Regions from separate parts of the Homo sapiens genome. Here region 2 is linked to region 1. The links are contacts of gene promoters, found by promoter capture Hi-C in blood cells and fetal thymus (Javierre and others, 2016). All regions are on one chromosome and are shown on one strand. Each heading gives the region's core, a stretch centred on a gene start or on the middle of the fragment in contact. The rest is flanking DNA. Distances are from core to core; before and after follow the strand shown. Region 1 holds the start of SH3GL3 (SH3 domain containing GRB2 like 3, endophilin A3). Region 2 overlaps SH3GL3 (SH3 domain containing GRB2 like 3, endophilin A3).

Region 1 (2,701 bases), core at 101-2,600:
AGCAGGATGAGACCTCACCACAAATGTGGACGTTGAATGAAATCTGTCTACCCTGGCTCTAGCAAAATGGGGGCTGGGGTTGCGGGGAGAGGTGGTGAGAAGCAACAGACCCAGCGGTGCTGGTGGGGAACAGGTTTTACAACGTGAGCTCTGCCATAGCTGGAAGAGCCTGCAATGTTGATGTTGAAAAACAAATTTGCTTGTCATCAACACACACACACACACACACACACACACACACACACACATCAATTTCATGTCTCCCCTCCTGTTTTCCTGTTTCCTCTGCTCAGAACGGCTTTCCTCCTATCATCCCACACCCTCAGCCATAATTCTTCCTCATACTTAATTCTCAAATGACATGTCTCCTCCTCCGGGAAGCTCTCCCTGACGCCCCCACTGTGTTATTTGTCATCCTCTGTGCGTGGAGGTGTGTCTAGCACTGTTTGTTTACGTGTCTGTCTCCGTGTCTCCCCTGCAGGCTGTCAGCTCTGTAAGAGCAGAAGCGTGATGCCCAGCCCCGGGCCGACACCGGGAAGACGGTGGGGAGGGGAAGGACCGCGGTAGAGAGCCCCAGCCGGGGAGCCGGGCACAGTCCAGACGGGGCCATTTCGATGCGCGCGCGGGGAGCTCAGCGGGACACAGCCAAGCGCCAAATACACAGCATCTCTGGAGGCGCCGGTGGCCGGTGGAGGATGGGCCCCCCACGAGGCTCTCCCAACCAAACGGCTGGAGACTCGGGGGAGGCCCTGCCGGCATCGTACTCCCTGTGGTCGTCCTCCCCTCGCGCGGGTAGGGGCCCCCCCACGCCCACTCCGTCTCCGCCTCCCGAGTCCCCGCGGCCGCCACCTCTGCCCTCCGCTCCGCAGAATCTCTCCGATTTACAACGGCCCAGGGCAGAGCCGGGGGCCAGGGAATGGGAAGGAGAAGGCGCCAAGACGCCGAGGAGAGAGCAGGCGGCCCCTCACCCCACCCTCGCGCCCTCCTAGGCGGGAAGAAATTGAGCCCCGAGAGAGGCCCTTCAGGGAACAGGAGTCCCAAAGGCCCGGGAGCCTCGGGGGGCCGCAGCCTCCGCGTCCCCCTCCCTCCTTCCCTCCTCTGCGCCTCCCTACCTGGCTGGCTTTGTGGAACTGCTTCTTCAGCCCGGCCACCGACATCGCGACTGCGACCGGCAGGGGCGGGGTGGTCTCAAGGCTCGGCTGGGCCACGCGGCCGCGACGCGCTCGGGGAGCGGGAGCCCGGGCCGGTCCCCCCGCGGCTGGGCTCCGCCGGGCCCGCCTCCCACGGCCACGGCCACAGCCACAGCCGCTGTCACACTCGCACACACGCGCGCACGCCGATGGCAACACTGCGTTCCAAAGCCCCTGCGCAGCCCATTGGCCAAGCCGCGGCGATATGCAAATGAAGCTGCTGGGGCCGCCCACGCTTCATTGTTGCGTGGAGACCTGGGCTACTTGAGCCGCGCAGAAGACCGGCCTGGGAAGCTGGGCGTGGGGATGTCCTGGGGGTCGGGGGAGTACAGTCACACAGTGCTTCTTGCTGGGCGCGGGACGATATAGATCTAGCTCTGAGATTGTCATGGGTACCGGGAGAGAGATCAGTTCTCTCTGCTTCTGTCTTGGTGCCGAACCGGCTTTGGCTCACAGGCAACATCGCCTCCCTCCGGCGCATTTTCGCTCGGTGTATGTTTAAGAAAGGAAGGCTCAGAAATGCGCCTAGGGAGGGACAACAAATGCAACTCGATGGGGGACCTGTGGTAGGAGGAAGCGGTCTGTGGGTGGCGGGCTTTCTTCTCTCTCCACGCGGTGCTCTGGGTGCAATCTGCTCAAATGATTTTGGTCTTCTGGGAGCCCTAGAGTTATGGAGTAATTTACTAATAAATACGGTGCTAGCTCACTTGGTGCTCTGAGCCCGCTGTCAACGGCACTAAAAGCAACCATCTCCAAGGTGCCATAAAGAGCTCGTTGCATATCCGGCGGAGTCCACCAGACCAGGAACCCAGCTCTCTCGGTAACCCCTACCAGCTGTGTCAGTTACAGAGTGTCCATTTGCACAGAGTCCAGAGGTCGACGCACTCACAGCTAAGCCCAGCCAGGGACATGGAGCATTGCGTTAACCTCGTGTTAGAGCTATCCCCAAAAGGTACAGCATCTTCGCTGAATCTGGCTTCCAAAGGTCCCGAGGATTCCCAAACCTAGAATATATGTTTGGCAACGCTTCACACTGAAAAACAAAAACATTTCCCACCTTCAGTCTCTTTTTGGGCCCTTAGCAGGTCCCATCTGGGGTGACGAGCAGTCCCTGTCTGCCCTGGACACTTCGGGTATATGCCTGTGCCCTGGTGTCCACCTGCCATAACATTTCTCCAGGACAAAAGTCATGCAGTTCCTCCCCTAGCTGTTAGCTCCCAGCGCCCAGTCGGGGCTAGTCCTAACCCTGACTTCATCCTAGTGAGGACTGGGCAAGTAAGTACACACCTCTCTGGGCCTTGGTTTCCTCACTTCTACTTGAAGCATGTAGACTGGAATAAACAGTGTTCCTCCTCTGATACTGGGGAAAAAATGCTTGAACTTAGTGGAGATCGTGGGATAAGGGCAGCCAGTCAGAGGGTTAATGAGCATGACTTGGGTGAGTGTTGTGGGCTTACCTGCCTGACACCAGCCACTGATAGATAACTAAAAAGTGTGAGGGTGGTGACAGC
Region 2 (2,700 bases), core at 68-2,567, 87 kb before region 1:
CCCGTGTTCCCAGATCTCAACAGTGTCTGGGGACCAGACTACAAACAGGTCCATGTAGGAACATGAAGTTTCATGGGGATTTGGGAGAGAGTTAATCTTTTCCTTTCTTCCTTTAGGGAGATTTATTCTGTTATGTACCTTTATCATTGACCTAGGCCTGATAAGGACAATGTCGAGTAGCTATTTAGATGAGTTTAAAAGATCAGATTGTATAATAGAATGACTGAATGGGTTCTGAGCCACATGAAATAATTTGGCTAGAAAAATTAATGTACGTCATTCTCCTCAAGCCATCCTGTCCAACCTAGGAAAGTTTAATCACCTTTAAAAGGACATAGAAGGTTGAAGCTGACAATGTTTTATTCTTAAAGTTCACCAATAAATATAGGTCTAAAGACTGTTCTGGCACAAATAATATACCTGAGTTTTTTTTTTAATGAATATGCAAGAACAGCTTGTTTTAAATAAAAAAACTGTATAATTAGGCTTTGATCTATGATAGTGTTTGCCTTTTTTTTACATAGATGGTATTTTTCAAAAACTAAAAAATACAAAATGTAAAATATTACCAAATTTTATTAAAACTTTGACTTCATTATAAGAATTAAGAAGTAAAGTTCCCTCCATTCCTGGGTTTAATCAGTCTGAGACAATTCTTTCCACCTTTTTCCTAAATTTACATATACAAACACATGTTTTTCTTTTACAAAAGTACAATGAGTTACACATACTTTTCTGCAACCATCCCCAGAGAAAAGACATTTGCATTCTGGTATTTGTTTAACAACAACAACAAAATTAGTGCCTTCTATGCATCAAGCTAAGTATGGTATTTGAGGGTCATTCTATTCCTTCCTCAATACTCTGGAAATATTGCAATTTCTGCTGCTTTCTGGCATTTAATGTTGCTGAGAACAAGTCTGAGGGGAACAGAAGTAGGTAACTATTTTTCTGAATGTTTTGTTTTTAGGACCTGGAGTTAATTTTTATTTTCTTAAATTTTATTCATTTTTCTTATAAAATATATTTTAAATTTCTTCTTTATGAAGTCAAGTGTTCTTTTCCCATTAAATTTGCTTGGTCTGTAGGGAGCCCCTGTGAATATCAGAATCAGGTCAATGGATCTGTGAACTTTTAAAAATACATAGACACAAAGGTTTCGAATCTTTCGGCCTAAGCCAACAAGAGGGAGGGAGAGAGGGAGAGAGGGAGAGAGAGGGGAAGACAGAGAGACACTGCTGCACTAGAAGTAACTCCACTCCTGTTTTGACCCATTTTCTGCTGCTATAACAGAATACCAGCAATTGGGTAATTTATAGAGAAAAGATATTTATTTAGCTCACAGTTTTGGAGGCCAGTAAGTCCAACAGCATGGCACCAGCATCTGGCAAGGGTAAATCCCATGGCAGAAAACAGAAGGGAGGAGGGAGCACATGAGATAGAGAGAAAATAGAGGCCAAACTCTCTCCATTCACGGGAGCAAGACCTCATGGCCTAATCACCTCCTAAAGGCCCACCTTTTAATACTGTTACAGTAGCAATTGAGCTTCCAACACAATCTATGGGAACATATTGAAACACAGCACCCCAAACATCAAGGCAGATCAAAGCCTGGTAAACCCTGGGACCAGAAGTGAGTCCCAAGTTAAGGAGATACTTCCCAAGAGGATCCTTAAAAAGTTAGTACCACCAGAAATAAAAACGTACATTGCATGAGTCAAGTAAATACTAACCAGAGGGAAGACAAATTGGCTCAGCAAGGAAATGGGACACCTGCGAATAAGTCAGCTCTGAACACCTGCCAGGGACCAGAGAGATCAAAGCCATACTGCAATCACCAAAGAAACAGAAACTTCCCTGCCCCACTTTCCCCTCCTTTCATCCTACACTCCAAACCCAGAGGGCAAGAAACTCTGGGGTAAGAGACTCAAAGGGAGCACACACCCTCCCTGTGGCAATGCCCTACCCGAGGCCAACCCTAGCTGGGGAGGGGGAGAAAATTAACATCAAGTCAGCATTCAACTTGTGATTATCACATAGAACTGGAAATGCTAATGACTGAACAGAAACTGTTATATGATTTAAAGCAGTAGTCTTTAAACTGGAAACACATGGATACTGAACATGGATAGTTTTAAATGACTGTATTTCCAGATCCTAAGCCTCTGTATATGCTCTTTCCTATTAACCGATTTGTCTTCAGAAGCTCCTATATGAACCCCTTCTGCCATTTTACAATAGAAAAGCACAGCCCTCACCCATCCCAAGTCTCTAGGTATTGTCCTGGGGTGTGAAAGCTCCGGTGCATCTTCAATCTCTCCCACTCACATCAACATTTACATGTACTCAAGCCTTTCATATTCTAGAATGTAACCTTCCATTATTTCCCCATATTCTACTCTGGCTACCACCCTTTCTAGTCCATACTCCTCAGAACTGCCTCTTAAGGTGTCATAGACATGGACTGTCCCCATTTTCTCACTTCCCATTCATTTCTCAACCTATGTAAGTCCAACACTGTTAGCTGGCCACTCAATAAACACTCTCCTCTTCCTCACTAACAGAACCCAAATTTTGCATACAGTGTCAATGGGCCCAGCCCAGGCAATGATCACTATGCCAGAACATTCCCTGCTTTCCCAGCATTCCTTGTGACTACAGGTAGTCATATGTCTCATTATGGGCAATGAGACCTAAGTA

The links. The method cuts DNA at HindIII sites, captures the fragments that hold promoters and counts their contacts. A CHiCAGO score of 5 or more calls a contact.
Region 2: a contact is called between a fragment that was not itself captured here and the fragment with the promoter of SH3GL3 in region 1, in 1 of 17 cell types (fetal thymus). The highest score is 6.7, in fetal thymus.

What each region holds. Positions count from the first base shown.
Region 1 is chr15:83,445,990-83,448,690 of GRCh38, reverse strand. It overlaps SH3GL3 (SH3 domain containing GRB2 like 3, endophilin A3), which reads right to left and starts at 1,350. Exons shown (of 9, transcript NM_003027.5): 1 at 1,113-1,350. The coding sequence starts at 1,157. RefSeq lists an enhancer at 1,495-1,654. The HindIII fragment of the contact is 8,141 bases long and covers 1-2,701 here.
Region 2 is chr15:83,532,914-83,535,613 of GRCh38, reverse strand. All of the region lies in intron 1 of SH3GL3 (SH3 domain containing GRB2 like 3, endophilin A3), which reads right to left. Among named protein-coding and RNA genes, the nearest start is that of SH3GL3, 87 kb to the right of the region's middle. The HindIII fragment of the contact is 3,041 bases long and covers 1-2,700 here.